4 separate regions of the Homo sapiens genome follow, and all the other regions are linked to region 4. The links are contacts of gene promoters, found by promoter capture Hi-C in human tissues and cell types (Jung and others, 2019). All regions are on one chromosome and are shown on one strand. Each heading gives the region's core, a stretch centred on a gene start or on the middle of the fragment in contact. The rest is flanking DNA. Distances are from core to core; before and after follow the strand shown.

Region 1 (6,106 bases), core at 1,144-3,643, 380 kb before region 4:
CAGGCCGACCAGGGCTCAACAAACTATGGCCCGGCTGGGTGTGGTGGCGCATGCCTGTAATCCTAGCTACTCAGGAGGCTGAGGCAGGAGAATCACTTGAACCTGGGAGGCGGAGGTTGTGGTGAGCCGAGATCACACCATTGCACTCCAGCCTGGGTGACAAGAGTGAGACTTCGTCTCAAAAAACAAACTATGGCTCACCACCTGCTTTTCTAAATAAAGTTTTATTGGCACACAACCATGCCCATTTGTTTACATACTCTCTATAGCTGCTTTTGTGCTACAAAGGAAGAGTTAAGAGTTAAGCAGCTGTGACGGAGTTTGCAGATCTCTGAGTTAGAACTAAAAAAGCCAATATCAGAAAGGAGAAACAGCCAAAAGGCCTTCTTGTGGCTCAGGGTTTTCTGAATCTGACCACTTCTAACCCCTTGCAACCACCAGGTCCCAGCCATATCCTCCTTCCCCTGGACTATCATGACCACCTCCTCGCTGGCATCCCTGTTTCCTTCCCCTGCACACACCACATGCACATGTGTGCACACACATACAAGTGTGAGTGCGCGCACACACACACACACACACGGGACTGTTATCTGTCCTGGTCATCACACTCTGCTCCCAGAACCTGGCACGGTGCCTGGAACACCAAAGACACCACACGTGATGTCAGAATGAACAAAGACAGAAAGGAGTGATGGGATCTGCCTAACAGGGAGAGAACAGGCCCTTAAAAAAAAGAGAATCTGGTCGGGCGCGGTGGCTCACGCCTGTAATCCCAGCACTTTGGGAAGCCAAGGCGGGCAGATCACGAGGTCAGGAGATCAAGACCATCCTGGCTAACACGGTGAAATGCCATCTCTACTAAAAAATACAAAAAATTAGCCGGGTGTGGTGGCGGGTGCCTGCGGTCCCAGCTACTCGGGAGGCTGAGGCAGGAGAATGGCGTGAACCCAGGAGGTGGAGCTTGCAGTGAGCCGAGATCCTGCCACTGCACTCCAGCCTGGGCGACAGAGCAAGACTCCGTCTGAAAAAAAAAAAAAAGAGAGAGAATCCGAGCTAGGAGCAGAGTGATGACGGGGAGGAGCTATTTTAGCTGGGGTTGTGGGGAGGCCCTCACTGGGGAGGGGTCAACTGAGCAGAAACACTGAGTTACCTGCAGGGATGAGGCAGGCAGGGCACCCTGGCAAGGGAAACTGCAAGTGCAAAGGCTCTGAGGAATGTTCTAGAAACAGGAAAATGGCACCTTGGCGGGGGTTAAAGGTTTACCTGTCCTGTTGAAAGGACAGGAAACTCAGGGATCCCCCAGGACCTTCAAGGGGAGAGGCTACATAGCACAGTAGTTGAGTGTGCAGCCTCTAAACCCGCACGATCTGGGTTCTAATCCCAGCTCCAGACGGCCTGAATTCTAATCCCGACTCCAGACGGCCTGAATTCTAATCCCGGCTCCAGACGGCCTGAATTCTAATCCCGGCTCCAGACGGCCTGAATTCTAATCCCGGCTCCAGACGGCCTGAATTCTAATCCCGGCTCCAGACGGCCTGAATTCTAATCCCGGCCCAGACGGCCTGAATTCTAATCCCGACTCCAGACGGCCTGAATTCTAATCCTGACTCCAGACGGCCTGAATTCTAATCCCGCCCCAGACGGCCTGAATTCTAATCCCGACTCCAGACGGCCTGAATTCTAATCCCGACTCCAGACGGCCTGAATTCTAATCCCGACTCCAGACGGCCTGAATTCTAATCCCGGCTCCAGACGGCCTGAATTCTAATCCCACCCCAGACGGCCTGAATTCTAATCCCGGCCCCAGACGGCCTGAATTATAATCCTAACTCCAGACGGCCTGAGTTCTAATCCTGCCCCAGACGGCCTGAATTATAATCCTGGCTCCAGATGGCCTGAATTCTAATCCCGCCCCAGACGGCCTGAATTCTAATCCCGGCTCCAGACGGCCTGAATTCTAATCCTGGTTCCAGACGGCCTGAATTCTAATCCCGACTCCAGACGGCCTGAGTTCTAATCCTGGCTCCAGATGGCCTGAATTCTAATCCCGCCCCAGATGGCCTGAATTCTAATCCTGACTCCAGACGGCCTGAGTTCTAATCCTGGCTCCAGATGGCCTGAATTCTAATCCCGACTCCAGACGGCCTGAGTTCTAATCCTGGCTCCAGATGGCCTGCGTTCTAATCCCGATTTCTACTTGCCATGTAACCTTGAGAAAGTTTCTTAACTATCTGAGCTTCTATACCCTCATCTATAAAATGGGGCTGATGTTAATACTCACATCAAAGGGCTGCTGTATTAAACTAATAAATATATGTGAAGTGTCTAGAAAGAGCCCAGGCACACTGAACACTAACTTTTGTTGTAATTTAAACCGGTGTCCATGGAGCCACTTCGTCCTCCTTCTTGCCATCTTCCTGCCTCAGGAACATCTCAGAACTCACCCCCCAATACCTGCCTCTCTCCCAATGGAAAGAAAAGTCACTTATCTGAGGGAGGAGGCCGGGGAAAGAGGCAGACATCCCAGGAAGGGCTTCCTGCCTCTCACATTCACAACCCACCTGCCCACTGTCCCACAGGGCACAGCTCCTCCTTCCTCACGGAGGCCTTCGGGCCAGGCCTGCCTCATCTGGCCTTGCTGCCTACCCTGGAAGGCCACATCCCCCCCAGGAAGAAGGGCACAGGAAACCCATGGGTTGGACTTCAAATCTAGCCCATGTCCTTCCAGCCATTTTGGTCCCCAGTGGACACCAGAAGCCATTTCTCGATCGGTTCAGAACGGGAAGGGGAGGGAGGTGGGATTCGTGAGCCTCCCCAAACCCCCGGGGGTCTAGAGAGCCACAGACCTGGCTTCAGTCCTCCCATACTCCCCCAAACCATCAGCTCCAGGGAGCAAGGTCCCGGGGGCTGGGCTGCAGGTGGGGGTGGTTACCGTGGTGCATGAAGCCATTGTTGCACAGACCCACGCCGAGCGCCACTGCCTCCTCCCGAGTCTGGCAGTCTCCCTGGAATGGAACAAGAAGGGGAGGGTGTTAGGTGGCAGCATCCGAGAGGCCATGCATGGCCAACGAGAAGCCCACAACCACCCAAGAAGGTAGGCTCCACGAGGGCCAGGGGTTGTCTGTTTTGTTTACTGCAGTAACCCCAAAACGGGTTTGTGATTATTATTTTTTATTATTATTATTATTTTTTTGAGACAGAGTCTCACTCTATCGCCCAGGCTGGAGTGCAGTGGCACGATCTCGGCTTACTGCAAGCTCCACCTCCTGGGTTCAAGCCATTCTCCTGCCTCAGCCTCCCGAGTAGCTGGGACTACAGGCACCTGCCACCACGCCCGGCTAATTTTTTGTATTTTTAGTAGAGACGGGGTTTCACTGTGTTAGCCAGGATGGTCTCAATCTCCTGACCTCGTGATCCGTCCGTCTTGGCCTCCCAAAGTGCTGGAATTACAGGCATGAGCCACCACGCCTGGCCCCATTTGTGATTATTATTAATAAACTCCAAACAAGACTATTTTATTGTACTGTGATCAATACCGCAAAGAAAAAATGGAGATTTTAAGCGGCAGACAATGTTGGTTGCCTAGCAACACCTTTCCCATTCCTCCCTGGTCAAGAAGCCCTCATCCATCTCCAGCCTCCCTTGCAGCTACAGGTGGCCAATGAGCTATAAGCAGAAATCACTGGTGGGATGCTCTGGCAAAAACCCCTTGTCCCTGGCCCTTTCTTTCTCTTCCTCCCGCCTGGAACAAAGATGTGGTGGCTGGAACTCTTGCAGTCACTTTAGACTACAAGGTGCCCTCATGGCTGGAAACACACTAAGGAAGGCAGAGCAGAAAGACACAGAGAGTGTGGTCCCCAAAGATATCAGGAGACACTCCAGCAGCTCTGAACCACCCACCTCTGGACTTCTCTCATGCTACAGAAACACAAACCCTAATTTGGCTCAGCTTCCATAATTGTGTCTCTAATACTAGAAATCAAGTTCAATTGCTAACTGACCAAGCACCAGCTAATAAGACGACTGGGGAAGCCTACCAGGGGCTTCTGAAAAACATCTTCCCCCCCAGGTAAAAGGGAAAAGCAGCACCACTCCTCCCTGCCTGGGATAAAGTCATGTGAGGAAGTGATGCTCAGGATGGTGGGGTGAAGAATGGAAGATTCTTCTGTCTGCTACTGAGCCCACAAACCAGCCCTGGAACCACCTAGCTCCATGCTTCTTGATAGGTGGCATCTCTGTAAGCCACTGTTCAGTTGGGCTTGTTATCCTGGCAAATGAAAATATTCCAAACTGATACAATTTGAACCAAGGCAATCTGACTCATCTCAGGACTTCCCGAAGGAAGTGACATCCAACCCGAAACGTGAAGAATGAACAGGCACGGCCCGTGTGCTGGACCCTGCGGGTTTGGCCTTTGGGGCCAACTCTCCCAGGTGGGATGTCATCTTGGTGGGGCAGTTGATCAAGGTTTGCAGCCCTCCTAGGCCAGGCTGAGGCCAAAGGGATGCTCCCTGCCCCAAGAACATGACACTTGAGTGGAGGACCCCAAGGACAAGGAAAAGCAGCGCTGATTGTCCCTCACAGCGGTGTGCTGGACAGAGCCTCCACCTGCTAGCTTCTCAGCATTTCCCGGTGCCAGTTCTTCCTAAGGCCTCCTAGGCCTGCCCTGGCTTTCTGAGTGCCCCACCTCCCTTCAGTGAGTCATCCTTTGTTATCCCCCCTTCAATTAGCCAGGGCCTGTTTCTGTTGCTTGCAACCCAAATACACTCAATACGTCCCGGCCAAGTGTGTGACACGTGTGTGTGTGTGTGCGTGCATGCGCATGTGCAGGTGGGAGGGACTGTCAAGCAGAGGAAACAGCAGGGGCAAAGGTCTGGAGATGGGCAGAAGCTTGGAGCGCAGAGGAACCAGAAGGCAGCACGGCCGACCAGGGGAGGACAAGCTGAGTCAGGCCCGTGGGGGCCAGGAGCCGGCACTGCTGTGTCCCCGCTCAATCCTAAGTGCTGGGAACGGGGCTGACCTAGAGTCCCTGCTCAATAGCTGTCTGCTGATTTAATAAAGGAGTGGTCAGCAGGGGCCAGATTGTGTAGGAGCTTGCAGCCAGGTCAATGAGCTTGAACTCCAAAGAGAAAGCCACAGGCACCACCTAGTCTCACTGAAACGCCTCCCAGAATGAGGAGCCCTGAGAGGCCCCGCCTGTACCCTCCCGTCCACAGCCAGAGGGGATTTTCCAACCAGAGGAGACAGGGGTGCTATTCAGAGGCAGCAGGACTCAGCCCTGGGCAGAAGGCCTGGGGCAGAGCCTCTGGCCTTGGCATTTCACCACACTGCCTGCCCTGGCTGACTCCATAAAGACACATTTCTCCCACAGGACCCCAAGCCAGTAGCTGGAGGGCCTGCGGGTTGGGAACCCTGCCAGGGGTGGTGGCTATGAGAGGCCATATCCAGAGCAGCCTCCCCCACGCCGTGAGGGGCCGGCAGTGGGGAGGCCAGCAGGGCCCAATGGCGGCAGGCCCTAGCTCTGCAGATGGGAGGCCCGGCAGGCAGCTGGAGCCACCTGGCCTTCTGAGGCGCTCACAGTCCCAGCCTCCCCACAGGGTCTTGGAGCTCCTAAAGCTAGGCCAGCAGGGACTCTCAGGTCAACAGTGATACAGAAGGCCCAGATGTGCCACCTGAACAGGAAGCCCTGCCACCTCCCTGCAGCCCTCTGGGAAGGATGCAATTTCTCCTCTCCCAGAGGAAGCCGCCACACACGAGACCCCTGCAACCTCCCCCGCCATGCTTCCCTGCCTTGACTCCCCCACCCGCCTGCCCACCCCCAGGTGCCCTCTGCACACCTCAAGGCCTTTGCACTCGTCCTTTCCTGCACACCTGGAATGCCCTGCCCCGGCTTTGCAGGTCTCAGGGCCGTACCACCTCCTCAGAGAGTCCCATCCTTAACTACCTGAAAGTAGCCCCCCAAACATTCCTCCACCCATCCTCTCAATAAACGCTCACCAGTCACACACACTCAGTACCCTGCAAGGCATCTGTGCCACCCTGTCCCAGTCTGAAATTAACTCACCCATGTATACATTTTGCTTAAGGTCTGTTGCCCACCGGG
Region 2 (6,176 bases), core at 1,297-3,796, 410 kb before region 4:
GAGGGTGGTAGGAGTGGGAGCTGCAGAACTTAGAAGCTGCCTCCCAGAACCTGTGGTTCCTCCTGGTGATACCTGGCTCCTGCTCTCACCCCTCCTCCCCTGGGGTTCTCTTCTGAGCAGCCAAGACCCTGGGAGCCGCACCCCTCACTCACAGGCCCAAGAGTCCCAAGGTCCCCTGTCCTAGCTCCCACCCTCTGTAGAATGAAGCCGGCTCCTCTCAGTAGGAAAGACCCACTTTGAAACCAAACAGACCCCAGTTCAAAGCTCAGCCACTGCCTGGCTGTGTGACCTTGGGCAAGTGTGTACACTTTCTGGGCCTCAGTCGCCTCCTCTGTAAAGTGGGATCCATGGCCTGCTGCCATTGAGAATCTCACGCAGGCAAGAGTGCTGTCACACAGAAGGTGCTCAAGAAAGGGTGTGCGGCCCACTGCCCATGCTGGGGGTCCGCCTGGCACCTTCCATGCTAATGCCCACTCCACGTGGAGGTTTCCTGACTCCTGCCCCCAACGGGGACCCCAGGCGGATACCTGAGTTTGCGGTAATACTGCTGAACTTTCTCCAGGGACTGCGCGTTGATGTCCTGCTGCAAATCCTCCGCGGCCTGGCTGCCTGGAGAAGGCAGCCCCTCCACGTTCTCCAGCACTGGGAGGGGAGATGTCGGGGGCGGGCAGGCGGTTGGGAGCCGGTGTGCTTGGTGGCCTTGGCCCGGCCCCCGTGGTCCTCCCTGCCCCAGGCCTGAAGCTCACCTTTCGTGAACAGCGCTGTGTGCAGCCTCAGGCTGGCCCCACCCTCCAGGCGGGAGGGCAGCTTGGAGAAGTGGTAGCTGTCGAGGTAGAAGATGACCTTCAGCGCCTGCCGGCTGCCCTCAATGTGGTAGAAGACGTTGGTGTCTGCGGAAGGATATGGGGCAGGATGACTCACCACCGAGGCCAAGGCCAGGGGAAGCCCTGGCACACCTCTCCAGAACAGCTGGCACCTCCCTGCCCCCAGGTCCAGGGGGGCACCCTGGGACCTCCCTGTTCTCCCGACTCTACAGGGGTAGCCTCAGACCTCCCTGCCCTCCTGCCCTCTAGGGACAGCCTCCAGCAGCCCTTCCCTCTCACTCTCCGAAGAACTGCAGCTGACACCTCCCTTTCGCCTGCTTCATCAGCTCCTAGTTCCGCTGCTTAATTCTTGAACCTGATGCGGACTCTGCCTACTTAGGGGGTCCACAGCATTTGGGGTCAGAGCTTCCCCAGCGCTCCTTGTACCCTCACCCGGTAGCCCATGGCCCCTGCCTGGGAAAAGCTGCCCTCAAACAGGGTATACATCTGATTCATAGCCAGAAGGAAGCGCTTAGGGCAGGGGGTGCAAAATATGGCACCCAGACCCCATCCTGCACCCATGGCAGACATCACTCATCGATCAAAGCTCTGCCCGAGCCAATCTCAGCCTGGAGACAGGCAGCTGCTGCTGCCTATCAATTCCAATTGCTACTCAAAGAGAACCTGCCCTTCATCTAGACTCTAGTCCATGCATTTTCAGCAGGAGAGACACTGTCCCCAAGGAGGTGAAAACTGGCTCGTGGGAAGGAGAATGAAAACACTTTCCTCTTTTAATGTATAATAAGCACAGATGCACAGATAAACAGACACAGGGTATACCCGTAGTAGTATAATTTCATGGGGGTGCAGCAATTAGGAAAAATTGACTAAAAAGGTTTTTTATGAAATTAAATAAAATCTAATGAAATGAAAAAACTGAGAAACACTAATCCAGTGCCTGGTTCCTAATTAAACCCACATGCCTCAGAAGCCCCTGGAGGGCTTTCAGCATACAGGCCTCTGGACTCCACCTCCAGAGTTTCTGAGGCCGTAGTTCTGGCTGGGCCGGAGAATATGCCTTTCTATCAAGCCCCCAGGTGCTGCTGGTCCAGGGGCCACGCTCTGAGAACCCCTGCTTTCAGAAGCAAGCCCAGAAGTTCCCAGCCCTGGCTGCACATCCAGACTACCCAGCACCCAGACCCCACCCCACAAACCGATCAGAATCGCTAGGGCCCAGGGCCCTGGGATCGTTGCAAAGTTCCCTCAATGATTCCAGAGTGCAAGCAGGGCTGAGACGCACTGGTCTAGACTATGAGCTCCAGGAGGGTAGGAATGAGGACCATGTTACATGGCCCAAAACGCAGCCTGACATATACTATGTGCTCAAAATTATGGACATGTAAATAGATGGATGGATGGACGGATGGATGATGGTTGGATGGATGGATGGATGGATGGACAGATGTTTGGATGGATCGATGGATGAATGGATGCATGGATGGATGGATGAGTGGGATGGATGGATGGATGGACGGATGGATGGATGGATGCATGGATGCCTGGATGGATGGATGCATGGACACATGGGTGGGTGGATGGATGGATGGATGGATGGATGGATGCATGGATGGATGGATGGATGGATGGATAAATAAATGGGTGGGCAGGTGGAAGGATGGGTGGAAAATAGACACAGAGAGAAAGACAGAAAGAAAAAGGGAGAAAGGGGAGAAAGCGTGGAGGAAGGAGAGGTGAGGACACGAGCAAGGGAGGAAGGGAGGATGGAACTTAATTATGGTACTTATTTAAGCCCTTTAAAAATCTTAAGTTTTCACATCTCTAGGGAATAATTTTATTAAGAATTGGGTACCAGTGTCATTCTCTTTTAAGAGCTGTTGGAAATAGCCGGGTTCATACAAAAAGAAACCCCTCTTTTTCCATGTGTGCCCCAAAGTTCGGCTCTCACACTCATGTTGGAGGCATGAGGTTTGACAGCACTGAGTACTGAGCCCACCTTGGGCAGCTGGCCCAGAGGCAGGGGAAGGACAGGGTGACCCCAGAGAGCTGTCCCTTCCACCCCAGGACCCCACCTCTCACAGTGGGGGATGGGAGAAATCACTCACTGGCCACATAGTTCTCGTCCAGCTGCTTAAAGGAGAAGGTGACATTGTCCAGCTCTGACAGCGTCACCCAGATGTCCTCCAGCATGGTCCGTTCCTCCTTCTGCAGGAAGAAGACAGCGCGGAGGAGTCTCAGATGCCAACCCTGCCCCAGGGTTTCCTATCAAGATGCTGAATTCAACTCTAGTCGGCACTCCACACTGTGGGCCCCCTGGGTGCCAGGTCCTGAGCGTGACTCTCCAGAGTGGATGTGAAATCATGGTGTGCTCTGTGGCTTGTCCTGCACTTTCAAGGGTCATAGAACCCATCTCTGCCTTAATTCACTGAGTGATCCTAGTAAAGTCACTGCCTCTCTTGCCTGGATCACCAACCAGGCTTCTAACTTAACCTTTTTGAGCCTAACACACTCAAATAAAAGTCCCCAATTCCTTCCTCAACCTCCCCCAGTCGGTCCCATGTCAGCAAATAGCACCAGCGTTCATTCGGTCATCCAAGATCCAAACCTTTGACTTCTCAGTTTCTCTCCCGCTCACCCTGGGCCTGGTCCATCACCAAGTCTGATGGGGTGACACTAAAACATCCTCCAGACCCACCCATCTCCCTCCAGCTTCCTGGCCACCACCCAGGTTCAAGGGTCCACCATCTCTTGTCAAGATGACACCAGGTTTCCCTTCTGCCACTCTCTGCCCCCAAACAATACATCCTACAAGTCATGTTTTGAAAACTTAACCCAAATTATATCACTCACCCAGCTCCAAGCCTCTGAACCCTCCACTGCTTCCAGATTAAAGTCTCAGGCCCTACAGAACTGGTCCCCACATCTCCCTAGCCCCTGCCGCTCCCCTCTGGTCACACCAGCCACTCTTCGGGGCCTTTGTACATGCTGGTCCCTCTACCCCGCACACTCTTCCTCACACTGTCTGCCTGGCTGGCTGAGGTCTCAGCTCAAGCGTCACCACCTCACACAGGCTGTCTCTGACAGAGAAGCTGCAGTGCCCGCCAAGCTTCCTGTAGAGATTGCCTTCTCCCCACCTTCCTTCCCTCCTCTGTCCTTTCTTCTTCTCAAGCTGCTTCCCCCAACTAGGAAGTCAGCTTCAGGCCCCCAGCTCCCAGCTCAGGGCCTGGCACATCGTGGTGTTTGGAGAATGAAGGAACTTGGCCCAGCATCCCCATGTGAGAAGAGGAAGGGGAGGGCTGAGTGTTCCCTGCTTCCTCCCTGGGCCCCAGGTTGTGCATTCTGAGAATCAAGTGATGGCCAATCTGTGCCAGGCAGGCGTCTTGTGCAGCAGCAGCCAGCAGAGGGCGCTCCAAGGCCAGGCCTCCCCACCAGCCAGCAGCAGGGGCTCCAGGAGCCAACCTCAGAGGCACTGGTGACTCTCAGGTCCTGGCCGGATGTCCAGCAGCATCCCTGGCTTCCACCACCCCACTCCCACCTCAGGCCCTCAGTTGTCACAACCAAAAACATCTCCAGACATTACCAAGTGTCCCCTAGTGGGGAAACTGCCCTGGGCTGAGAGCCGCTGGTCTGTAGCATGGATTCTGTTATCTGTGTGTGTGTGCCTCCCTCCCTCCCACTGGGACAGAAGATCCCTGGGTACAGGGACTCTGTTTTGTTCACTGCTGGACCTTCAGTGCCTATAAAACAGCACACAGGTGCTCAACAAATAGCTGCTGCGGGAATGACGAGGCCAGGGGGAGCCTGAGTAAGTGGGCAAGGGCTCCCTCGACCCGGCCTGGGCGGGCACCAGTGGGTGGGCCAGCGGGGCCGCCCTCCCGCCCCACTCACTCACCACTGTGGCTGGCGAGAGCAGGGACTGGCAGTGCAGCAGGACGCCCGTGGCCGCCACCTGCTCCAGCCACTTGCGGCTGGCGTCGCGGCTGCTCTCCTCGTACTCGCCATTGTTGTTGTAGCGGTAGCCCAGGGCCGCCAGCAGCTGCTTGGAGAAGGTGCACACGGCGGCCACCAGGGCCTGGCAGAAGATCGCGTCTCTGCGCAGCTGCAGCTCCGTGTCTGGGGGCAGAGGGCAGGAGGCCTTGCTGGAGGGGCGCTCCCGTGCCACCAGGAGGCCCACCCCCCAAAACCCTGGGTCCAGGACCCCTCATGGAACCCCCAGCAAAGGGCTAACATCAGGCCAGAAATTACTTTTTGGTGGACATCCCAGCCACCAAAAGCCAATTCCACAAAAATCAATTCTACGAAAAGCAAGCCCATTTGCCAAAACTGTTCTCTCAGTGACTCATCTGCCTGCTTTGAAAACCAAACAAACAAACAAACATCTTGTGATTTTCCTAAGGGTTTCCCAAGACCCTCACCCTCAGCCATTTCTCCTCTCATTATGGGATTCCTTGGCCTTGGCCAGTAGAATGCCAATGGTGCTAAGCTCTTCTGCCAAGCTGCACATGTTCAGAAATGCAGTTTAGCATTTTCTCTATTTTGGAGAACTATGCTTTCTTCCTTCCCCCACCTCTGCCCTTGCCCCTGTCCTTGACCTTGGCATGGTCTGAAGAACTGGCCAGTTTCAAGCAATTGGTCTCTCAGGGTCCCAATCTTCTGGAAGGAATTATTTCCAATGGCCGGCTTCTGGCCAGTGAGTTTTTTAGTGACCAAATTTGACCCAGATCCTGCAGTAGCACCCCCTTGGCTAATTTCTAGAAAGAAGGCAGGGATAGAGAAGGTCTCCAAGATTCTCCCGCTACCTCCTCCCCCTTCCTCTTCCCCACTCTCTGCTGGGTGGAAGCCCCCAGGCTGGGGCTGAAGGCTCTACCGGCACAAGGCCCCCTAACATCGTCCTCTATCCCGGGGCCCCGTCAACATCCACCCAGGCCTGGGCAGTGGCACAGGACAGGGCTCCTGGCTCCAGTGCCCTGAGACTTGTCCCTTGGACACAAGAGGAAGAAGCAAGTTTCAAGTAGCTCTTGGAGGGGCTCCAGGCCAAAGCGTTGCCTCCCCCCGTCCAGGCCCCGAGGGCATGGATGGTCGGCCTTGGGTGGTGGAAGAGGCCGGGTATGTGCCCCCCACACACCTTTAAAGGCCTCACCTGTGCACTTCAGCAAGGCCAGGAGCAGCTGGTTCTTCCCATCTGGAAGGAGAAGGGAGACAGAAAGGGGGACGGGCTGGGAGGGGGCAGCAAGAGGTGAGGGCAGAACCGGGCCCCTCCCCATGGCACCTCCCAAGGTGCTCTGACCCTTCACAGCAAAGCCCTGGCACCCAAGGCTGTGCTCAAGGAGGTTTTATTGATTGTCAGGTAAACTC
Region 3 (5,670 bases), core at 1,575-4,074, 280 kb after region 4:
TGCTCTGTCGCCCAGGCTGGAGTGCCGTGGTGCGATCATCATTCACTGCAGCCTCGAACTCCTGGGCTCAAGCGATTCTTCTGCCTCAGCCTCCCAAGTAGCTGGATGACAGGCACGCACCACCATGTCTGGCTCTCTATCCTTTTTAAATCCCAGAAGTAAAGTTTTCACACCCACTGGAGACAAAAAAAAAATCTAAATTCTGTCACCCTGTAAAACGGTTATGACCCAACTTTCCTATGTCAGGGAGGAAAGTGATTGATTGGGCCCCTCTACCGTGTGATATCACTAGAGCTTCCTTCAGAAATTTGTTTTAAAAGACAGAGAGGGCGCTTTTAAAAAAATGCATAATGGGTCGGGCACAGTGGCTCATGCTTGTAATCCCAACACTTGGGGAGGCTGTGGGAGGATCATTTGAGGCCAGGAGTTCGAGACCAGCCTGGGCAATATTGGAAGACCCAGTCTCTACAAAAAATTAAAAAAAAATTAGCCTCAAATGGTGATGACTGCCTGTAGCACCAGCTACTCAGGAGACTGAGGTGGGAGAATCACTTGAGCCCAGGAGGTTGAGCCTGCAGTGAGCTATGATTATGCCACTGCACTCCAGCCTGGGTGACAGAGCGAGATCATGTCTCAAAAATAAATAAATAAATAAATAAATAAATAAAAATGTAAGGGACCTAACATCCATTAATCACCTATCCCTCTGTGCCCAGAAGCTGGGCTGGATGTCCCCTGGAACCTGAATACATTCTCCCTGCCCTCTGGGGTTCAGGTATGGAATAACATCCCTGTTTAGCAGTCAAGAAAAGCAAGGCTCAGAGAGGAGAGGGCTTTGGGCAGTCAAGAATTCCCAGCCAGTGGAGGAGCTGGGTCTGATTCTGAGTCTTCTAGCTCCTTGCTGCCAGGAGTGGCCAACGTTGGAAATTCAGGCAGCAGTGAGATGAGAAAGTAATTTTGGATGTGGTGTCTTCTCAAGCCATAGGCAAAAGAGAACTCCTTCCAGATTAAATTTGGGGAAGGACTGCCTGGGGGTGCTTTTGTACTGGTTGGTTTTCTGTGTAGAGAGTTCATGCAGCCGCGGGTCTGTACTGATTGGAGCTGAAGTCCCAGGTTAGCACCACCAACAGGGGCTCCCCTGCCACAGCGCAGGAGTGGGGGCCCAGGATGGGTCCAGGCAAAGGCATCAGTGATACTTTCTCATGGTCTGACCGACACCCACAGAATCACACAATGTTAGCCCCTCCCAAGAGATGTCCTTTCTATACGGAGTGGGGGCTGGAGGAACCAGGAGCCTCAAAGCTTTGCTTTCACCTTTGTTTTGCTCTTTTGGGATCTGCCTCCTTATCTGGAGCAGGGTCTTGTGAAGAGACGCAGGGAAAAGTTCACTTTCCACCTCCCAGGGGAGCAGGCAGGAGGGGACTAGTTAGGAGGCAAAAGATGTAGAGAAGTATTTGCTTTTTTCATGGGCTATTTTTAGGAGATAAAGTCAACTGCCTTAAGTGATCAATTGTAATAGAGGGAGATGTTGAAGATGACTTAAAAAACAAACAAAATCCGCAAACAACAAATCTAATATTTATGAAATACCAAATGTCAGGAAGGTACTATTTTAAGTGCTTGAAGTAAATTGTCTCATTTAAGCCTCATAATAACGCTATGGAACAGTGTTATCATGTCTGTTTTACAGATGAGGAACTAAGGCACAGAGAGGTTAAGTGACGTGTTCTGGGTTGCACAGCTCTTAAACAGCAGATCTGGGATTTGCACTCCAGCAGTCTGACTCCAGATCTCAATATTGTATAGCAGCTCAAGGGTGGCAGAGACTCAAGAATGTTAGGAGAGGGAAGCTTGAGTCTACAGGTGTAAGGAGACCCCTTGACATCTTCCCCATTTAGTTCAATTAAAATTTTCTTTTTTTTTCTTTTTCTTTCTTTCCTTCCTTCTCTCTTTTCTTTTCTTTTTCTCTCTCTCTTTCTTCCTTCCTTTCTTTTTATTTTTCAGGGTTTCACTGTGTCACCCAGGCTGGAGTGCAGTGGTGCAATCATGGCTCACTGCAACCTCTGCCTCCCAGGCTCAAGTGATCCTCCTACCTCAGTCTCCTGAGTAGCTGGGACTACAGGTGTGGGCCACCACACCCAGCTTTTTTTTTTTTTTTTTTTTTTTTTTTTTGTATTTTTTGTAGAGATGGAGTTTTACCATCTTTTCCAGGCTGGTCTCAAACTCCTGGGCTCAAGCTATCCTCCAGCCTTGGCCTCCCAAAGTGCTGGAATTACCAGTGTGAGCCTCCACACCCAGCCTCAATTACAATTGGTGGCCACCTTCTGTGTGCCCAATTCAGCTAGAAGCACTGGGGGATGGAAGCAAGGCTGGAGTTCTGGTACCCCTCAAGCTTATTGTCTATTTTTGGGAGACAAGGTAGTTGGGAAAGGAATAAATAATTTCAGTCTGAGCAAGGTGAAGCTTGGAAATGATTGGTGAGGATGGTGTGGAGGCAGGGAGAGAGTGGGGCTGGAGTGATTAGTAAGGCCTTGAAAGATAGACACCACTGTATTTTCCAAGTTATTTACAGAATGTTTCCATGTATTCTATACTTCTTAAATATCATCTCAACCCTGTATGGTTGATGTCCCTACATATACACTTATGTGTTTCCTGTAGACTTAGTACTCTTAGGGTTGTGACACAATTTAACTTAAGTTAACAAGGATATTTATTGGCTTAGGTAACTAAAGAACAACCCAGGGATTCCAGAGCTTCAGGCATGACTGGATCCAGGGGCTCCAAGGATGTCATCAGGACTCTATCTCTTTCCATTCTTCGGCTTTTCTTGTGTTAACTTCATTTACAGGCATGCTGTCACCAAGTGGTAGCAAAGCTAGTGGTCAAAGACAGTAGCTGTAAACTGCCATCCTTAATGGATTGAGAGCATTTTTCCCCAGTTCCAGCCAAAATCCCAGGGCTGGTTCTCATGGGCTCAGTTTGGATTAAATGGTCATTGCTGACCCAATCAATCACTGAACCCAGGGAGAAGGAATATATCAACTGGCCATGTGGGGGTCACCTGCCTCATACCAGGAACGAGAGGGTGCGATCAGCCCTGTCCAAACCATGTGGATTGAGAGTGGGGAGTTTTGGTTTCTCAGAAGAAAACTGAGGTGGTATTCCCAGAAGATGGGGGAAAGGAGGCTGGGAGGGTACTACTCAGCTGTGGGAGACCACGTGCTTTGGGAAACTTTGGGTAAAGTGTGCTGAGATGTTGAATAGGAGGAGGGCACGGTAAATGACTGTGGATGAGTTGCAGGAAAATGTAGATTTTTAGCCACTGAGCTTGGGGGTCTCCATCTATGATCCACTGTCAAAAAAGATCCTTCGTGAACCCCCTCAATAGGAGATGGGAACCACTGAGGGATTTCAGGGAACAGGCCAGAACTGTATTCTAGAAAATCCTTTTGGTAGACAATAAGGAGGGCAGATGGTAAGGAGGCTGGGCAGTGTGGTTCAGAGGAGAAAGCGGGGTTTGGATAATGCAGAAAGACATTCCTTGGCTGGGCCCCGTGGCTCATGCCAGCATTTTGAGAGGCTGAGGTGGGTGGATCACAAGGTCAGGAGTTTGAGACCAGCCTGGCCAACATAGTGAAACCCTGTCTCTACTAAAAATACAAAAATTAGCTGGGTGTGGTGGCACGTGCCTATAGTCCCAGCTACTCCGGAGGCTGAGGCAGGAGGATCGTTTGAACCTGGGAGGCGGAGGTTGCAGGGAGCCGAGATGGTGCCACTGCACTCCAGCCTGGGCGACAGAGAGAGACTCCATCTTAAAAAAAAAAAAAAAAAAAAAAAAAGGTGTTCCTTCATGAGCCTGGGCCTGTAAGGGTGGGGTGAAGCGATTCTAAGGGGTCTGTGGGAAATGTGGTCTGGCCATGGCAGGCTCAGCTGGCACGATGTCATCTGGGTATCCAGGACTCAGTGAGCAGCCTTACCACCGCCCTACCCCTTTCTGTAAGGCTGGGAAGCTAGAATTTCTTCTTTGGTCAGGAAAAGTGGGCTGGGCTTTGCTTTGAGAAACACTGCTATCTGGTGTTGCCTTTTTGCAATGTCAGCCTGTGGTTATATTTCCTTTGTTGTTGCTAAGGCAAGATTTGCTCACTCATTGTTCAGTGGCACATCACTTCCTGAGTTGCTGTGTGCCAGGCCCTGTGCTTGGTGATGGGATACAGCAGGGAACATGACAAATGAGGACCCTATTGTTGTGGAGCTGACACTCTAATGGAGGAGGCAGACACTACGAGAATAACCACAGATGTACTGAGTTTGTGATCCTGGGCCTATGCGAGGGGTGATGATGGTTCCCTCTTGTGTGCGTGCTGCCAGTGAGACGGGTAGAACACGTGCAGGGTGGTGCCTGCCTAATTTTCCGCAAAATCTCTCACCTGCCTGGCAGGCAGGGCAGGAGATCGTGGTGGACTTTGGGGATACCCCTTGGTCCAGCTGTCCAGCCAGTGCCTGAATCTGGTCTGCAGTCTTCCTGCCAGGTTTTTTAGCCACATTGTGAACACTTTCAGTGACACAAAACTCATTCTTCTAGCAGCTTCTTCTACTGTAGATAATCCTTTCTCTCCTGGGAAACCGCAGGAGCCATCATGCTTCTGCCCTCACCCCCACCCAGAGAGATGGGCAGTCATCCTTTTGAAACCTTTGGTATCACCACGTCACATCTCTGCTCAGAACTCGGCAATGGCTTTTCGTCATGCCTAGAATAAAATCTGAACTCCTTACAACAGTCCTCAAGGCCCTATATGCTATCTTTGTCCCCTCCCTCTCTGATGTCACCTCCTACCACTTTTCCTCTGGCTTATTTTCCTGCAGCGACACTGGCCTCCTCACTGTCCCTCTGATATCCTACCTTTACCCTGCCTCAGCGACTTTGCACTGCCTGTTTTGTGCCTGGAATACAGTTCCCTTCCTACACAGTTCCCTTCATCACTTTCTTGGGGGCTCTGTTCAGATGTCCTTGTCTTGGAGGACTTCCTTGACTCCTGCCTAAAATAGTTTCTTGTTACACCACCCTTGGCACTCTTTCTTTTTTTCCCTGCCTCTCTCTCAACCCTGGCCACTCTTGACCTGCTGTTTTTTCTCAAAGCACAGATCACTAGTTGAAATTACATGGTTGCATGTTATTGTTTATTGTCTGTTTCCCCCACTGAATGTCAGCTCCTTGAGGGCAGGGCTGTACCTGTTTTGGTCATCTGTGTTCCCAGCACCCAGCCCAGTGCTCTGCACACAGTAGGTCCTAAATTGTTGTTGAACGAATGCATAAAGACCATTGAACTGGGCATTTACAGTATGGCCAGTGCTTTGCATTCGCCATTGCAACAAACCCGAGACTGTGGTTCAAATCCAGGTTTGTCTGACTCTACATCCTTGGCTCAACTTAGGGATTCTGCCTCTTAAGCCCCAGTGGCCTCATCTCTGAGCTGGGTTTGACAATAGTGCAAACACATTAGGAGTTGGGGACCTGGCAAGTGACAGATGGTACCCCCAGAAGGGTATAATAGAAAACAAGGGCTCTATTCACAGAGGTGGGGGCAGCAGTACAGGACAGGAGGAAATGGTGTTATTGGAGCCTGTGAGAGTAGGATCTGCAGCCAAGGGCCCCCTTCCCCAAAATGG
Region 4 (6,509 bases), core at 3,481-5,980:
CAAGGTGGGTGGAACACTTGAGCCCAGAGGTTTGAGACCAACCTGGGCAACACAGAGAGACCCAATCCCTACAAAAAAAAATTTAAATATATACATTTAAAAATTTTTAATTAAAAAAATATAAAATAAGGAAATAGAGGACATAATATATTACCTACAACTTATATCCTAATTAATAAAGGAGATTTCCCATTTTGTATGAGTAGATTTGTTTTTTTGAGATGGAGTCTCGCTCTGTTGCCCAGCTGGAGTGCAATGGTGCAATCTCAGCTCACTGCAACCTCTGCCTCCTGGGTTCAAGCAATTCTCCTGCCTCAGCCTCCCAAATAGCTGGGATTATAGGCACACAGTACCACGCCCGGCTAATTTTCATATTTTTAGTAGAGATGGGGTTTCACCATGTTGATCAGGCTAGTCTCAAACGTGTAGATTTTTATAACATATAAACATATATTTAAACAGAAATAAGCCAGGTGCAGTGGCTCACGCCTGTAATCCCAGCATTTTGGGAGGCCAAGGTGGGCAGATCACCTGAGGTCAGGTCAAGACCAGCCTGGCCAACATGGTGAAACCATCTCTACTAAAAATACAAAAATTAGCTGAGTGTGGTAGTGGGCGCCTGTAGTCCCAGCTACTTGGGAGGCTGAGGCAGGAGAATTGCTTGAACCTGGGAGGCGGAGGTTGTAGTAAGCCAAAATCGCGCCACTGTACTGTACAGCCTGGGCAACAGAGTGAGATTCCATCTCAAAAAAAAAAAAAAAAATTAAAGTGCCTCCATTTTAAAAAAGATAAGAAACAACAATCAGATACTTCTCAATGTTTAGCTGTTAACACTCTTCTGCATCTCAGTTGGGCTTTAAAAGCGAGATTGAGACATAAGACTTGTTCTTTCCCAGCATAACCAGATGTGTCCACGCCCTTCTGGATCCAAATAAAATGTAAAGTTATCTTCCTCAAGGAGCACACCATAGACAATGTGTCTTTTCAGAATGTCTTTCCTTACATTAGACAGATTGGGGTTTTTTTTGTTTTTGCGCGGGGGGACAGAATCTTGCTTTGTCGCCCAGGCTGGAGTGCAGTGGTGCGACCTCAGCTCACTGCAACCTCTACCTCCCAGGTTCAAGTGATTCTCCTGCCTCAGCCTCCCAAGTAGCTGGGATTACAGGCACCCACCACCACACCCGGCTAATTTTTGTATTTTTAGTAGAGATGGGGTTTCACAATGTTGGCCAGACTGGTCTCGAACTCCTGACCTCGGGTGACCCATCCTGTCCTCCCAAAGTGTTGGGATTACAGGCGTGAGCCACCATGCCCAACCTAGACAGATTGTTTTATAAGGGTTTAGAAAGAAAGGAAACTACATGAATGAGTACTTAGTCTCCTGCTCCTTGAAGTGGATGAATTGTTTTCTTTGGTTTCCAACACAGTCTGTTAAGAGTTGTAGCACGCCCCAAGAGTATGTGCATGTAGTGGAGCTGGGATGGGGAGGATTCCCAAGGGAATCTTTAGCTGTCACCCATGAACCATGCAGAGTGGAGAAGGACACTCAGCCTTTCTGTGGCTCTCACCTGCATGATTATTCTGGTGGCTGCAAAGGGCGATAGGCAGTAGGAGGAGACACCCCGTGACACCAAGAGCTGTGTCCAGACATGATCGTCTTGGCACAGCTTGAGGGTTTTCTACAGAAACTGGTAGAGATGCTAGACAGACACAAGATGCCAGCCAGCCTCCTTTGCGATTGGCTCTTAGAGGTGGAAAATGGTAAAGTCATCAGGCTCATTCTCCCTAGGACTAGAGGAACATGTTAATTATATTAAAGTAGATTAGTGGGCCGGGTGTGGTGGCTCACGCTTGTAATCCCAGCACTTTGGGAGGCCGAGGCGGGCGGATCATGAGGTCAGGAGATCAAGACCATCCTGGCTAACACGGTGAAACCCTGTCTCTACTAAGAATACAAAAAATTAGCTGGGCATGGTGGCGGGCGCCTGTAGTCCCAGCTGCTCGGGAGGCTGAGGCAGGAAAATGGCGTGAACCCAGGAGGTGGAGTTTGCAGTGAGCCGAGATCGCACCACTGCACTCCAGCTTGGGCAACAGTGTGAGACTCCGTCTCAAAAAAAAAAAAAAATGCAGATTAGAACGATTAAAATGATTACTGGTGATTACTGGTACTATTGCTGCAATAGTAAAAATACATCTTTTTCACCAATGTCTTTGTTTTTTTTTAAAATGTTCCACCGTCTTCTGACCATCATGGTTTATTTTTATTTTTATTTTATTTATTTATTTATTTTTTTAAGACACAGTCTCGCTGTCACCCAGGCTGGAGTGCAGTGGCTCGATCTCGGCTCACTGCAGCCTCTGCCTCCCAGGTTCAAGCGATTCTCCTGCCTCAGCCTCCTGAGTAGCTGGGACTACAGGCGCATGCCACCACATCTGGCTAATTTTTGTATTTTTGTAGAGACAGGGTTTTACCATGTTGGCCAGGATGGTCTCGATCTCCTGACCTCATGATCCGCCTGCCTCAGCCTTCCAAAGTGCTGGGATTACAGGCATGAGCCACCGTGCCCGGCCTCACCAATGTCTTTCACTCATGTATCTTTCTCCATGGACTTCACTTATTTATATATGGCATTTCATTCAACATGCAACAAACATTTATTAAGCAGCTACTGTGTGCCTAGTGCTGGGGGTACAGCTGTGAATACCATCAATATGGGGCTAGATGTGGTGGCTCACACCTGTAATCCCGGGGCTTTTTTTTTTTTTGAGATGGAGTTTCGCTCTTGTTGCCCAGGCTGGAGTGCAATGGCAAGATCTCAGCTCACCGCAACCTCTGCCTCCCGGGTTCAAACGACTCTCCTGCCTCAGCCTCCCAAGTAGCTGGGATTGCAGACGTGCGCCACCACACCCGGCTAATTTTGTATTTTTAGTAGAGACGGGGTTTCTCCATGTTGGTCAGGTCTCAAACTCCCAATCTCAGGTGATCTGCCTGCCTCGGTCTCCCAAATCACTGGGATTACCGGCGTGAGCCACCATGCCCAGCCCTATCCCAGTGCTTTAGGAGGCGGAGGTGGGAGGATCACTTGAGGCCAGGAGTTTGCCTGGGCAACATAGTGAGAGCTCATCTCTACAAAAAAATTCAAAATTAGCCAGGTGTGGTGGCAGGTGCCTGTAGTCCTAGCTACTCAGGAGGCTGAGGTGGGAGGATTGCTTTAGCCTAGGAGGTCGAGGTTGCAATGAGCTATGATTGTGCCATTGCACTGCAGCCTGGGTGACAGAGCAAGACCCTGCCTCTTAAAAGAAAAAAAAAAAAAAAAAAAAAGCCCTGGCCAGGCGTGGTGGCTCATGCCTGTAATCCCAGCACTTTGGGAGGCCAAGGCTGGCGGATCACAAGGTCAGGAGTTCAAGATCAGCCTGGCCAATATGGTGAAACCCCGTGTCTACTAAAAATACAAAAATCAGCGGGGCATGGTGGCGGGCACCTGTAGTCCCAGTAACTTGGGGGGCTGAGTCAGGAAAATTGCTTGAACCTGGGAGGCAGAGGTTGCAGTGAGCTGTGACAGCACCACTGCACTCCAGCCCTCCAGCCTGGGCGACAGAGCAAGACTCTGTCTTTAAAAAAAAAAAAAAAAAAGAAAAGCCCTTGCTGTATAGAATCCCTTAGGTTATGGATGGGGAGGAGGGCAGGGGTTTAGGAGGGGAGAAGCGGAAGGAGGAACAAAATAAAGAAGAGACAATTAGTTGGAGAGTGATAAATACCATAATGATATCATGGAACTAGGCTTACCAGATCAAACACTGGGCACCCAGTTCAATGTGAATTTCAGATAAGCAATGCATGATTTTTAAGTATAAATATGTCCTACACAGTATTTATACTAGAAAATTATAAATTTTTTTCTAAAATTTACATTGACCTGGGCAGCCTGCATTTTATTTGCTAAACCTGGCAACCCTAATTTGTGTGCTGGGTGGTGGTGAGTGGGCAATTTCAGATAGGCCTCTTTTGTGGAGGTGACATTTGAGCTGGAACCTAAATGTAAAGAAGGAGCCAATCATTCAGGAATCTAGAACATCCCAGCACAGGGAACAGCAAGTATAAATGCTCTAAAGTGGAAATAAGCTTGGAGCTTAGAGGAACAGGAAGAAGGTGGGGTGGCGGAGCTGAGTGAGGGTGAGGAGAGGAGGGAAGCGGAAGGTGATGAGGGCAGGCAGGCTGGCAGGGGCCAGATCCCATATGGTTTGTGGGCTGTAATAAGAGTACCAAAACTTACATACCAGGCCAGGCGCGGTGGCTCACGCCTGGAATCCCAGCATTTTGGGAGGCCAAGGTGTGCGGATCACTTGAGGCCAGGAGTTCGAGACCTGTCTGGCCGTGTCTCCCTCTAAAATAGAAGCTCCAAGAGGGGCAGGAAGTTCTCTTCCGTCTTAGACCCTATGTGCACGACCTTGGATCGATCAACATTGAACACCTCCTACGTGCCAAGCCCTGACATCAAAATGGGTCAGAAGCCAGCAGCCGCTCGCTGAATCTGTGTTCCTCTTTGGAAAACGAGAACCGTGAAGCCTGCTGGCATGGTCAGAGCCAAAGAGCATTGTCACTTGTGAGATCAGCGCAGAAACAGAGCGGGGCCCCGATTGGCCCTTCGAACTTGGGTGGGGCCAGAGCATTCCTGGCCCCGCCCCCTGCAGCGGGCCGCTCGCTCATGCGCTCTGGCCTCAGGCTCGCTGTCGCGCCATTTTGCCGGGGTTTGAATGTGAGGCGGAGCGGCGGCAGGAGCGGGTAGTGCCAGCTACGGTCCGCGGCTGGGGTTCCCTCCTCCGTTTCTGTATCCCCACGAGGTGAGGCGCGGGGCGTGCACGGCCTACCAGAGTGGCTCTTGGGGCCCAGCTGAGGAAGGGATGAGGCGCTCCCGGTACTAACGAGCGCTAGGGAGTGAGAACCGCGCCTCTGGGCGAGAGCGGAATGTGGGCCCGGGGTTCGGGTGGTGCGCTCAGGCAAGGTCTTCGGCTTCCCTAGGGAGCGCTTGCCGCGCCTCGCGGCATCCTAGGTCTCTGGCCCAGGTGCGGCGACCCCAGGGCCTGTGAGGGCTGAGGGCAACTGAGGCGCGGCCTAACGCGAGCCTGCGGATTGCCCGCCCTTTCCTCTCCATCACGGCGCTGATTGGCTGCGCCGCCGCCTCTCCGCTCGGGAAGGCCGCTCCTTATTGGTCGCGCTCGCATGTCCATTCTCTGCGACGGTGGCTGCTAGCCGCGCGAGCTGAGTGTGCGGCGGCGAGGCCTGCCCGGGCGGGGACTGCGGGCGCGTGGAGCTGCGGCTGCCTCGCGTCGTCCCTTGCCCTAACTCTAGTGAAGCCCCCGAACTCACCCTTCTCTAACCTCTGTACTTGTATCCCTGACTGTAAAACGGGCATCGTGATCTCACTTTGCTGAATTGTTTGTGAGAATTCTAGTCGGTACACCCGGGACATAGAAATCCCCTGTAACGCGGGTTGGGGGAGGGTTCCCTCGTTTTGGGAGAAACGCTGTGCTGTGGTGGTTCGGAGCATAGACTTTGGAATTAGATCGCCTGGGTTCATTCCAGACGTAGCCTCTCGTTAGGGGTGTAACTTGAGGCTGGTCACCTCATCTCACTGAGCCTCCATTTCCTTAGCTGCAAAATGGGGTTAATAACAGAATCTACCTCGGAAAGTGGCTTTGAGGATGCGCTGAGTTATTTACCGTGGTTTACAAAGGTTCCCTGGGAGCTGACGGTTGTTTATTCATCTCTCCCACCCATCTTTCTCCTTAGCCAGTGTGGCTTTCTGTTTCTTCCATATTCCAGGGTTATTCCGATTTAAAATTATTTGCACATGCCTTTTGTTTGCTGGGGAAGTACCAACATTTTTGCAAGGCAGGCCGCCTCTCCCAAGTTTCCCTCACCTTAGGCCTCCCCTAACCAACCTCTTCTTTTGTTTTCTTTTTCTTTTTCTTTTCTCTTTTCTTTTTTTTTTTTTTTTTTTTTTTTTTTTGAGAGAGAGAGTCTCGCTCTGCCTCCCAGGCTGGAGTGCAGTGGCGCGATCTCGACTCACTGCAACCTCCGCCTCCCGGATTCAAGCGATTCTCCTGCCTCAGCCTCCCGAATAGCTGAGACTACAGGTCTGAGACTACACGCCACCACACCCGGCTAATTTTTGTATTTTTATTAGAGACGGGGTTTCACCATGTTGATCAGGCTGTCTAATCAACCTGTCTAGGACCTTTCTCCCATGGCTCTCCATCAACATCACCTGGTTTTAGTTACTTCATAGCATTTACTAACACTTACTTATTGCTTACTTGTTATCTTTCTCAACTGCTAGAATGTAAGCTGTTTGAGAGCAAGGACCTTGTCTGTCTTGCTTACTTCTCTCTCCCTGGTGGGTGCCATCCCACCTGTGCTTGCCACATGGTAGATGCACAAGTATTATTCTTCCTTGGAGGCACAGAAGGGGACCCTTTAGTCTTGGATTCCACCAATTGCTCTTTTT

What was found. Contacts are between HindIII fragments. The study calls those that stand out against the background at their distance.
Region 1: a contact is called between a fragment that was not itself captured here and the fragment with the promoter of CSE1L in region 4, in 1 of the 25 tissues and cell types used here (lymphoblastoid cells).
Region 2: a fragment that was not itself captured here is called in contact with the fragment with the promoter of CSE1L in region 4 in 1 of the 25 tissues and cell types used here (lymphoblastoid cells).
Region 3: a contact is called between a fragment that was not itself captured here and the fragment with the promoter of CSE1L in region 4, in 2 of the 25 tissues and cell types used here (hippocampus and mesendoderm cells).

What each region holds. Positions count from the first base shown.
Region 1 is chr20:48,663,348-48,669,453 of GRCh38, forward strand. PREX1 (phosphatidylinositol-3,4,5-trisphosphate dependent Rac exchange factor 1) reads right to left here. Exons shown (of 40, transcript NM_020820.4): 15 at 2,936-3,008. Among named protein-coding and RNA genes, the nearest start is that of PREX1, 160 kb to the right of the region's middle. The HindIII fragment of the contact is 6,858 bases long and covers 1-5,822 here.
Region 2 is chr20:48,631,750-48,637,925 of GRCh38, forward strand. It overlaps PREX1 (phosphatidylinositol-3,4,5-trisphosphate dependent Rac exchange factor 1), which reads right to left. Exons shown (of 40, transcript NM_020820.4): 31 at 5,962-6,003; 32 at 4,714-4,934; 33 at 2,927-3,026; 34 at 747-890; 35 at 528-642. Among named protein-coding and RNA genes, the nearest start is that of PREX1, 190 kb to the right of the region's middle. RefSeq lists an enhancer at 4,289-4,428. The HindIII fragment of the contact is 9,523 bases long and covers 1-6,176 here.
Region 3 is chr20:49,319,803-49,325,472 of GRCh38, forward strand. No RefSeq gene overlaps it. Among named protein-coding and RNA genes, the nearest start is that of SNORD12, 42 kb to the left of the region's middle. RefSeq lists enhancers at 3,926-4,427, 4,428-4,927. The HindIII fragment of the contact is 6,734 bases long and covers 1-5,670 here.
Region 4 is chr20:49,041,582-49,048,090 of GRCh38, forward strand. CSE1L (chromosome segregation 1 like) reads left to right here and starts at 4,731. Exons shown (of 25, transcript NM_001316.4): 1 at 4,731-4,842. CSE1L-DT (CSE1L divergent transcript) reads right to left here and starts at 4,475. Exons shown (of 2, transcript NR_110625.1): 1 at 4,279-4,475. RefSeq lists enhancers at 4,354-4,503, 5,054-5,123, 5,089-5,729. The HindIII fragment of the contact is 10,199 bases long and covers 1-6,509 here.